2 separate regions of the Homo sapiens genome follow, and region 1 is linked to region 2. Evidence: promoter capture Hi-C in 16 types of primary human blood cells and fetal thymus (Javierre and others, 2016). All regions are on one chromosome and are shown on one strand. Each heading gives the region's core, a stretch centred on a gene start or on the middle of the fragment in contact. The rest is flanking DNA. Distances are from core to core; before and after follow the strand shown.

Region 1 (6,022 bases), core at 3,523-6,022, 1.0 Mb before region 2:
GCATCCACACAATAGAATAACGGATTAATATCCAAAATACATCGTTAGGTTAAACAGCAACAGCAAAAAACAGGTAGGTACAGAACAAGCAGTATTCATTGTACTACCTTTTGTAACATAAAGGGTAAACTTAAAAATATGTACATATATTCAAAGACAAATACACATGTATTTATTTTTGTAAAGAAAACAACTCAAAGTATAAAAAAGACATTAATCAAAATGGTTACCTATATGGGCAGAGTAGGACTGGGGTGAAGGTAATAGGGATGTAATCAAGACTTCTGAGTTCTCTTTCGATATACTTTAGATATTTGAACCACATAATGACTTACATACTCCAAATAAATTAATAAGGGGTGTATGTAATATTCATATGTGTATGTATGTATCTGTGTACACACATATATTTCTGACTGGAAGCAATTATCACTGAGTCATGGGATTATGGTACCATTTTCTTCTTTGCCCTTTGCTAAATGTTCCCAGTTGCATGTAATACCCATTACTTTTACAGTCAGAAAGAAATTACTCCAAATAAATCTATTTTTATAGGAAATTTTTCAAACTACTCATCATAAAACAGTTTCAAAATTAACAGCCATTCAAGCTGAGTGTGGCGGTATGTGCCTATAATCCCAACTACTTGGGAGGCTGGGGTGAGAGGATCACTTGAGCCCAGAAGTTCAAGGTCAGCCTGGACAACATAATGAGACTCCATCTCAAAAAAAAAAAAAAAAAAAAAAACTGTTCCAGTCTACTGTTAAATAATATCATTCACTAGGGAAGCAAAGATGATCAAAGATGCCATACCACTTTAAAATATGGCAGTTTTTCCTTTTCTTAATATGTTGAGTTCAAGTAACACGGACAGCTGTATATATGTATATTTATAAACAATGCACATATACTATCACACCAGTATTATGTATATAGTACACACACACACGAAATGGAAATTTAAAAAGGATACAGTAAAAAATAAATAGAAGTTCTATTGTTTTCTTCATACAGCACAATGAACAAGTTTTTCATATATCCCCAAAAGCACATGCAACCCACTAGGGGGAATCACTGGAACAAACTACTCCAAATCAGGAAACTTGTGGATTTGTATTCTAGTCTCAGCTGTCTTACTGCCTGCCAATATCTTTGATCAAAATCAGTTAAGGGGCTTGATTTGCACTTTAGTTTTCTCTTCCAAAAATTGGAGTATTAATGGTTTTAAAGTTACTTTCAGTATTATGGTTTCATAATCCCACCAGTCTCTCTAATAATTATTCTCTTTTAAAAGAGAAACTCCAACAATTTGGAAAACTAAGTAAGAAACAAGAATGTCTCGCAGTTAACCATCTTACAGGAGGTTATGGTCTTCTCTAAGAAAATTCTAAATGAACAAATGAATAGCTGAAAGAAACAGATCATATCGCTTGCTTTCTTGATGTGAGAAAAATCAAATTCAAGCCTGCATTGTATAAAATAAATTGTCTGAATGAAGTAATTACCTTTGAAACAATCCAGCACTATTTGTATGCCACCCAAAAACAAGAAAATCATAACAACGCTTGTACAATTTTGTACCTAAGATTCTCTGTCAGGTATCTGAGCATTAAAATTTATTTATTTATTTATTTTTTTATTTATTTATTTTTTTTTTTTTTTTGAGACGGAGTCTCGCTCTGTCGCCCAGGCTGGAGTGCAGTGGCGGGATCTCGGCTCACTGCAAGCTCCGCCTCCCGGGTTCACGCCATTCTCCTGCCTCAGCCTCCCAAGTAGCTGGGACTACAGGCGCCCGCCACTACGCCCGGCTAATTTTTTTTGTATTTTTAGTAGAGACGGGGTTTCACCGTTTTAGCCGGGATGGTCTCGATCTCCTGACCTCGTGATCCGCCCGCCTCGGCCTCCCAAAGTGCTGGGATTACAGGCGTGAGCCACCATGCCTGGCTGGCTGATTGCTACATTCTTTAGCAAACTAGGTCTCAGTTTCAAGGATCTCAAAGTAAACCCGAGCAAGATACACTAGGGGAAATGCAACATTGGCTTGAACCCTGATGAAGAATCTATTAAAAAGGGAGAAAAATTTTAATAGTTCTTTCTCCATTAACAGGAGAAGGTAACATCTGTATCTTCCTGACCCGCCTTACTTTCGGTTCAGAATCAACAAAAAATAAAGGATCCAAACAGATGATGGTAAAAATATAACTAAATCCAACGTGCAAAAACCCTTATTACTTCAACTGCAAATTAAACTTACCCAGTTAGAACTGTAGGCATTCCATTTCCTTCTCCCTCATAGTATTAGTAGTCCAGCCTGCTCAGATAAGCCTACCATACAAATGAATAGACAATGTATAGCCTAAGAATTGAGAGTCCCAAAAATTGAATCATAAGGCACTGAACAAAAGTATACTCAATCCCTTCCCTTAGCCTCCCCTGATCCTCCTTTGGGATGGCAACTCAGGGGATGGGAAGAAGCGGAAAGCTATTTCCAAAAAAGAACTTCCTACTTTATGAGTCATGGTAGAAACAAGTAAAGACGAAAATAATGGTTCCCCCTTCAACAAGCACAATCTTCTCAAATATAAAACAAATTCCTCAGAAGTAGTCTTATAACTCTTCAACAGGAGCACCTCACAAACATAATACATATCTCCTCTTCTTTCATTTCCTATTTCAGAGAGAGGCAGAGATTGAATGAACAGATATTAGCCTAGCTTGGCCTGAGATGACTGAGCTAAAATGAAGAAAAGAAAATCTGCAAATTCCCATAGCAGTCCTGATTAAAAACCAGTATTCTATGTAGTCTCTGCACAAGTTATGATAAATTTAGCCACAAAAGGCAGACCTCTTTTTAAAACTGCACAATACACAAATGGGTACTTAATCATTTCATCTTCCTTTTCAAAATTCTCTCCCTTACCTAACTTCCTCTCTCACCCTTATCCCAAGTGAAGACCCCCAACTTGCCCTCTATATGCCTAAAAAACACCTCTTACTTAGCTTTGACCTCTAGCACTCCCATTCCCCATAACCCAACTAGGTATGAATCAGATTATGTGATTAAATTACTTCACATTAATGGGTAAATGAGGCTTAATCCACAAAGGTCAATTCCACACGTCATTAAACTCTACTATGTATAAGGCACTAAGTTTAATCAATTAATATACCTATCCTTCTTACAAGAAAAACTAACACAAATCAATCTTTTAATGAACAATGTAAGGAAGGGGCACAAGAGTGTTTGCTTCACATCACACTTTCTCCACCCAGTTCTTTCCATCCTGTTGCCAAACCCCTCCAATCTCCATCTGGCATGGAATAAAATCCAAGGGATCAGTATTTCTTCCAGTAAGTCAATGCCTAGGAAGACAATGTGGGATAGCACAGCAAACAATAAACATTCAAATCCTGAAATGGACTGTAGAGGGTCTCTTGTATTTAATTTTATATATTAGCTGCAAATACAATAAAGAGCTTCTAAATAATTCAATTTCTGTACAAGATACCTATAAATCAGCTTTGCTCAGAACTCTGAGTTTTTAAACCATAAATACTGAGATGCTTTTTCTTCAGTTATTTCCACAGTTAAAACGTTTATAGTAAATACCAGTTCAAATTGCCCTACTATAACTATACTTAAAGGCTATTAAACTTAACTACTGTTTTCAATTAGATGTGACATTTTTCCCAAGACCCCTTAAGTTTGAAACTCCAAACTTGCTTTAAACCTCCTTTTTTTCCAGTCATAAAATTTATTAATTTTGATTTATAACAGAGCTTCTAAACTGGAGAGGAGAATACAACTATGGACAGGTTTGGATTTGATTCAGTCACATGATATTTTTAATGGTTTTAATTAGTTGTCAATATTTTTAAGACGCAAGACACTGAATGCAAAAATCTAGATTTCCGAGTTCTCTTGAGAATGCTGAAGATGGGGTCCATATTCTTATATAGCACTGATTAGGGGGACCTGAGACTTGGATGTCTCTCTGATAAGGCATAGTGCATTTCCCTCATTTTCATTATCTAACTAGTACCCGAAGGCATGTGAGTTTGTTGCTCATGCTATGGCTTTGAAAGGTGCACAATATTTTCCATATCACTTCCATACTTCCCTAAGTCACCTATTATAAAAAGCCAAAAGCAGACCACAGTGGTTTGCAACTCCATAGTTAATAATTTAAAAAATTCACATGGCTTAGAGGGAGTGAGAAAGAAGAAAATTCAGACTGGTGGAAGGGTAACATAATTACATAGGGTTAGAAGTCTATCTGAAAGCTTTTCTGGGAGTGAGAAAAAAGGTGAACGAACACAAAAACATTGTTGAAACACTAAAAGCTTTCCTGATTGAACACTGTTACTCTCTGGTGGTTCCTTACCACATTCCATGCTTCAGAAACTTCCTTCCTACTTTGTATGTATTAATATAATAGCTGTTAGGTCATACACGCTGAGAAATATTGGGAAAATTTATAAAACACATTTACATCATCAGAAATAATTCTTCTCACACTTTTTTTTTTTTTTTTTTTACCAGTCTTGGTCCACTTTCAAATCCCTTCCCAAGTATTTTCTACTGCTTTCCGCTTTATATTCAAATGACAACTGCAGTCCTGGGTTTCAGGACTGAACTTCAATCCTGGACAGGCTCTCTAATACAGAAACTCTTTTGGCCGTTATGGCTGCATTCTTTATTATATCTCTTATTCCGATTTCCACAGTCTCTTTCATTGAAAATTTATCCCTAACCCCCTCTCTAAAAGATTTTGATCAAATTTGTGTAGTTGGGGGGTTGGGAGGATAGGGGCGGGAAGGAACTCAGTTGTCCAAATACAATTAATATCCTGTGCTGTTTCATTTAGATTGCTAATTTAAATAAAAAGCATGAAAACTCTGCAAGATAATAAATCTTCGTAAAATAATCTTGTTTACTAAGTGCACAAAGCCACAAGCAAGTGAAGCTCTATCTTTCAGCATGTCTGGACTAGTGACTTTTCATCATGGACTCAGAATACTGAGAAAGGAGAAGCAGGAAATCTGTGAGGCCCAGGGACAGTCACACTGGCCCACACTAACAAATTACTAACCGATGTCTCACCTTCCCCCGCCCCATTCCCAAAGATAAGGGTGTCAGGGCACCTGCATCTGAAGAAGAAAGACATCAGAACCTTTTCCGTGCAAGTTTTAAGAAAACAAAGCTTTACCACACGTAAAATGGTTACAACATAAAACCACGCAGCACGTTAGTGGGGTCTCACTCCTCTTCACCCAGAGGGAGGCTGCCCACCACCTTATCCCCTATTGTGATGCGCCTTCCTCAGGATGTCGCTGCGTTCGTCTGAGATGACAGGAAAGGGGCGGGGCACGGGGTTCCTCTGCCCTGGAAAGGGATGAGGGTATCGCCTTCATCCCCGGAGAAAGGCCCCCGGACTCCCAACCCAAAAGCAGCAGCCGCAAAACTCAAGTCTTATCCCGGCCTCTCCTAATTGGGTGCTCGTGGCCGGAGCCCAAAACGCCACCCACGGTACCCGAGCAGGGTCCGGCCGCCCAGACCACCGCCGCAGCAGCCTGGCTCTCACGCCCAGATTCGCCCTCCGCCCCTTTCCTCTTTCGCCCCGGCCAAGCCCAGCCTCCCGCGCCGCCCCCGCCGAGTTCCCCAGCTGAGTCCACTCACTCTCGAACCTGTAGTCCCCCTTCAGTGCCCACACAAGATTGGGGCAAAGGCCGGGGCCAGTGACACCTCCACTTCCTCCTCAGCCAGATCCCTCCGGAGGTGGCTGTGGAGGAAGCCACTGAGGCGGCTGCGCGTAGCGGAGCCGCCCCGGCAGGTTGCAGGCCGGCTCCTCAGCCTCTTACCGCGAGAGCTCACAATGCGAAGAGGCGAGGCCAGCAGCGTTCTCGCGAGAACGGTGCTCTCCGCCCAGGGGTGGGCGGGGCACCGAAGGAGAAGGCAGTTGAGGGCGCGGCGGCCACGGGTGGGATCTCAGGCGCGTGGAGAGGAAGGCGCCGCGCGACC
Region 2 (5,925 bases), core at 3,276-5,775:
AATAAATGAATTATCTTGGGAAGGGGAGAACAAAGAATGATTACAAGTCTTCAATAACCTTAGGGCCATTATGAGGAAAAGAACTACAACTAATGGGTAGTAGTTACCGGGAACCAGATTTGGGCCTAAATATGAGAAATACATTTCTAATGATTAGAGCTAAGCGGCTATGAAACAGAGTTCTGAGCGTCAGATGCGGTGGTTCATCTGGCCCACAGAACTCTTCATTTAATAGCCACTTAAAATTTTTGTATTTTTACTAGAGATGGGGTTTCGCCATGTTGGCCACGCTGGTCTCGAACTCCTGAAGTCAAGTGATCCACCTGCCTCAGCTTCCCAAAGTGCTGGGATTACAGGCATGAGCCACCATGCCCAGTCTCAACTCTTCTTAATGGCAAAAATATACATTAAACTGGAGAGTATGTATTTATTTATTGGTTGGAGGAAGGTAGCTAAGGCAGCTTCAATTAAGACTAGGGCATTGTTCCAACTAAGGGCAGATTTTATTCTTTACCTTCCTAGCTATAACCTTAGGTATCCTGAGGATCTAACAATGAAAATTTTTAAATTATGAGGAAAAACACTAATGAATGTATTCACTATTTTGCATTCAACTATCCTACATGAACATGAAAAAAGGGAAATATATGTGGCTTATGTATATAATGGTATCATTTTAAATATCATAAAACTGGGTTTCTTTTCCCTTCTCTAAAAATAGACCTCAATAGAAACCTAGTATTAAGTAACCTAGAATCAGGAGGTATTCCATTACTGCTGATTAAGAAGTGGGAATAGGCAAGTAAAATATTAAGTTTCTTTTCAAACTGCAAACTATCTTCTAAAAGATCCTTTCTATATTTGAAGCATAATTTTCACTCTGCTCTGTTTAAACAATATTTATCAGTTTAAGTTGTATTTATTTTTAGCAGTTCAATTAAACAAGAATCATTACTTTGGAAAGCATATTAATTATAAATTTTTTTTTTCTTGACAGAATCACTCACAAAAAGGAGACACGGTATACATTTTTAAAATTCAGAAATATGATAAATTTAGTAAAGTTCCAGGACACAAAATCAACATACAAAAATCAGTAGCATTTCTATATGACAACAGTGAACAATCTGAAAAAGAAATTGAAGAAGTAATCTAATCCCATTTACAATACCCACAGATAAAATTAGATACCTAGGAATTAATTTAACCAAATAAATGAAAGATTTCTACAATGAAAACTATAAATACTGATGAAAGAAATTGAAGAGAACATCAACAAATGGAAAGATATTCCATGATCATGGATTAGAAGAATCAGTATTGTTAAAATGTCCATACCACCCAAAGCAATCTAGAGTCAATGCAATTCCCATCAAAATACCAATGACATTCTTCACAGAAAAAAAAAAAAAATCCTAAAATTTATATGGAACCACAAAAGACCCAGAATAGCCAAAGCTATCCTAAGCAAAAAGAACAAAACTGAAGGAATCACATTACTTGACATCAAATTATCCTACATAGCTACAGTAACCAAAACAGCATGGTACTGGCATAAAAACAGACATAAAGACCCATGGAAAATAACAGAACCAAGAAACAAATCCATACACCTACAGTGAACTCATTTTGACAAAGGTGCCAAGAACATACATTGGAGAAAAGACAGTCCCTTCAATAAATGGTGCTTGGAAAACTATGTGCAGAAGAATGAAACTTGTCCCCCATCTCTCAACTTACACAAAAATAAAATCAAAATGGATTAAAGGCTTAAATCTAAGACTTTAAACTATGAAACTACTACAAGAAAATATTGGGAAAAATCTCCAGGACGCTGGTCTGGCCAAAAATTTCTTGAATAATACCCCACAGGCACAGGCAACCAAAGCAAAAACGGACAAATGGGATCACATCAAGTTAAAAAGCTTCCGCACAGCAAAGGAAACAATCGACATACGTGATGAGACAACCCACAGAATGGGAGAAAATATGTGCTAACTACCTATCTCACAAGGGATTAATAACCAGATATGTAAGGAGCTCAAACAACTCTACAGGAAAAAAAAAAACTCATAATCTGATTTAAAAATGGGCAAAAGATTTGAACAGACATTTCACAAAGACATACAATTGGCAAACAGGCATATGAAAAGGTGCTCAACATCACTGATCATCAGAGAAATGCATATCAAAACTACAATGAGATATCATCTCACCCCAGTTAAAATGGCTTTTATCCAAAAGACAAGCAAAAACAAATGCTGGAGAGGATGTGGAGAAAAGGGAACCCTCGTACACTGTTGGTGGGAATGTAAACTAGTATACCCACTATGGAGAACAGTTTGGAGGGTCCTCAAAAAACTAAAAACAGGGGTACCATACGATTCAGCAATCCGACTACTGGGTATATATCCAAAAGAAAGGAAATGAGTACATCAAAGAGATATCTGGACTCCTATGTTTGTTGCAGCACTGTTTACAACAGTCAAAACTTGAAAGCAACCTAAGTGTCCACCAACAGATAAATGTATAAAGAAAATGTGGTACATATACACAATGGAGTACTATTCAGCCATAAAAAAAGAATGAGATCTTGTCATTTGCAAAAATATGGATGGAACTGGAGGTCATTATGTTACATGAAATAAGTCAGGCATAGAAAGACAAACTTCACATGTTCTCACTTATTTGTGGAAGCTAAAAATCAAAACAAACTCACGGAGACAGAGTAAAAGGATGGTTATCAGAGGTGGGAAGGGTAGTGGTAGGGAAGTGGAGATGGTTAATGGGTACAGAAAAAATGAGTTAGACCCGATATTTGATAGCACACAGGGTAACTACAGTCAATAATAATTTAATTGGACATTTAAAAATAACTGAAAGTGTAACTGGATTGTCACACAGAAGACAAATGCTTGAAGGGATGGATACTCCATTTTTCCATGTGATAATTATGTATTGCATGCCTGTATCAAAGCATTTCATGTACCCCATAAATATATACATCTACTGTGTACCCCCAAAAATTAAACATTACAAAAAGTTCAGAAATATAGTTGTTTTCTTATTTGCAAAAATGCATAAAAAATGAAAAGGTAAACTTTTCTGGAAAATACATGTTTATTCCAGTGTTCACCTAATTGTTTGGGTGGGTAATCCAAAGAACAAAGTTCTTTTGGTTTTACAAGCTAAGTAACATGAAGTTAAGTGCACGATGGAATTAAGATATTCCAATACACATCCTCAACCTGTTGCCTAGAGAAAATAATCAGCCACATTAATATATTGAAGTCTACAAAAATTATGACATTTTGAGGAATATCTAAACTATTACAATTTCTTTAGGTTTACTAAGATAAACTGAGATGTTCTATTTCAAACAACCAATATTTAAAGAAGTTCGCATTTTTAATAAAAGGTCTATCGAAGAGATCCTAGAAAAACTTTAGACAAAAATTAAGCATTTCTAATTATAAAGGAATATGAAATATGAGTTTTTTATTTTTGTTTTTTCTTTTTTCATTTCATTCTCAAAATAATATCGAAGTTTACCTAGATCATTTTTTAAGCTAATTTCAGATGGTGGTTCTGAATCCATTGGCACGTTAATTAACGTGTAGCATACGTTCTCAGCCGCCGTCATGGTTTCTGGTTATATTATAACCAATCCTTGACACAAGATTTAAGGATGCCAGAAAATCTAGAAAAATAAACACAGACATATCATTACAAATTAAAAAAAAAAAACCCACAAACAAGTACCTATAGTGACCTTTTAAAGTATTAGAAAGGGCAGGTCAATCTATATCGTGTTCCCATAAAAATAAATTCTAGTAAAAACCACATTATCAGCTCTGGCATAAGGTATATTATCTATCACTCCCTCATCGCATCCCGGTCCAGTGTTTGAGAATGCTGTATAGCCGAATGAAGGCCCACAGAACAGTGACAGTCCCCCCAGCCACACCCCACAATGTTATGGACCGTATGGTTTTTACACAACACACAATCTGCATGCTCAAGTTAAGAGACCTTGTGCCTGAATACTCTGCCAAAACCCTAAAGCGCTTTATCGCGGTCCTTGGTGGGTTCCGACTCTATGTCCGCGGGTCCCTTAATCAACGCGCTGCACCCCCACCTCGCCCCACCCGCTTCCTCCTCCCCTTCCTCCAGCAAAGCAGCCCTAGGCCTGAAAGGGTACGCCTAGGGGTCTTGGGAGGGAAAAGACCCCCGGCCAATACAAAGGACGGGATGGAGCGTCCGACCCGGAGCTTCCTAGCCCTCCGCCCCCACCCCGACCCGCACCCCCACCCGTACCCCCACCCGGTCCCTTCTGCCAGGCCCAGACGCAAGCGGCCTAGTCGCTCCCCTTCCGCATCTTCCAGCTAGAAAGCCAGTTCTTCCGACTCTGCCCGACCCACCACGCCTCTGGGACTGGGGGCTTGTGGCCCACTACCAGGCTCCGAGGGGCAGTGGTTTGGTGCAGCCGCGGATCCGTCTACTGCGGCTCCGTCTACTCCGGCTATGAACCGCAGCAGCGGCGGCGGCGGCTCCAGAGTCCTTGGCTGACGTGGAAGGGGGTGGGGTAACGACCGAAGCCACAGCCACCTAGCACCTACGGCGACTCAGAGAGGACATGCTTTCTTTGTGCAGCGCTTGCGCGCTGCAAGTATATCCTATTTTCTTCCTCTTCTCTTGTCCAGGGTTTGATTAGGCCGCAGAGCAATGAAACCACGTATTTTCTAGTTTTCCCTGCAAGCCAAGCTCTGAGTTAAGCACTATGCTAATTTAAACGCTAACTGGAAATCGTTCCTTCTTCAGGAACAGTCAAGGGGAGAAAGTGCTTGGAGAGAGGGAAACTTTTACAGGGCTCTGTTCCCGTGAAAAAGAGCTCTGGACTAGAAAGTGGAAACCCAGTAATCCTTTTTCTTGTCCACACCCTAATAAACTGGGAAAGTAACTAATACTATTGGGAAGGTAATTCAGTTATTTTATTAATTATCACTAGATTAAAATCCATTTCAGTTCTTAACATCGCTAGTAGTTTGAATCTGCCTCTCTGCAGGTAGGGCTGGAGTTATTTGAAAATCCAAAGTCACATTGGTATAATTTCTGCTTTTTATTTAATAATGGCCTCTTTCCGTGATCCTTTCTGAGCACCCAGTAGATTAGAAAAAATTTTTATGCATAAAGGGAGACAGTCACTGTTTTAAAGGATTTTACGTATCTCCAAAGACCTGTTACAGCTGCAATCAGCCATAGTACTTTCGGTTTTGCCCATTTGAAGTTCCATAGCACGCCCCGCCCCTACACCTCCCTCTGCCCACAAAAGGGTTTTATGGCCAATTATTAATAACAAAATATCTTAAAGCTTAAGCAAAATACTGCGAATAAAAACAGATCTGACGGCAACTGCCCTAGTTAACAGGTTCATCTCAGGAAGATGGAACACCAATAGTACCTCATTTATGTAGGATCTAGCTCTTTTGAGCTTTCTCTTTTTAGAACCATCAAGCAATCTACAAATTCTTTGAGCACCCAAAATTGTATTCAAAGGCCATGTGTTGACAGCACTTTAAGAGTGCCTCTCTGATTCTGTGCATTCATTTTTTTTAATATTTAATCTTAATGGTAGAGTGACATGAATACAGAGATCCCATATACTCTTTACCTAGTTTCTCCCAATGGTAACATCTTGCATAGTTATAGTACAATATCAATTTCAGGAAATTGACAGACATAATTCACCCAGCCTTGTTCAGACTTCACTAGTTTTACATGTACTCGTTTTTATATTCACTTGTAGACAATTTTATCATGCTTATATGTGTGTAATCACCAACACAGTCGAGACAGAACAGTTCTATCACAAGGATTCTCATGCTGTCCTTTGATAGCCATAGCCACCTCCCACACTAACCTGTG

What was found. Contacts are between HindIII fragments. The CHiCAGO score rates a contact against its expected background, and 5 or more counts as called.
Region 1: a contact is called between a fragment that was not itself captured here and the fragment with the promoter of COPB1 in region 2, in 1 of 17 cell types (fetal thymus). The highest score is 6.2, in fetal thymus.

The regions. Positions count from the first base shown.
Region 1 is chr11:13,457,412-13,463,433 of GRCh38, forward strand. BTBD10 (BTB domain containing 10) reads right to left here and starts at 5,811. Exons shown (of 9, transcript NM_032320.7): 1 at 5,681-5,811. RefSeq lists an enhancer at 5,991-6,022. The HindIII fragment of the contact is 860 bases long and covers 4,343-5,202 here.
Region 2 is chr11:14,495,286-14,501,210 of GRCh38, forward strand. It overlaps COPB1 (coat protein complex I subunit beta 1), which reads right to left and starts at 4,526. Exons shown (of 22, transcript NM_001144061.2): 1 at 4,422-4,526; 2 at 3,553-3,700. The coding sequence starts at 3,643. RefSeq lists an enhancer at 4,648-4,747. The HindIII fragment of the contact is 3,446 bases long and covers 1,924-5,369 here.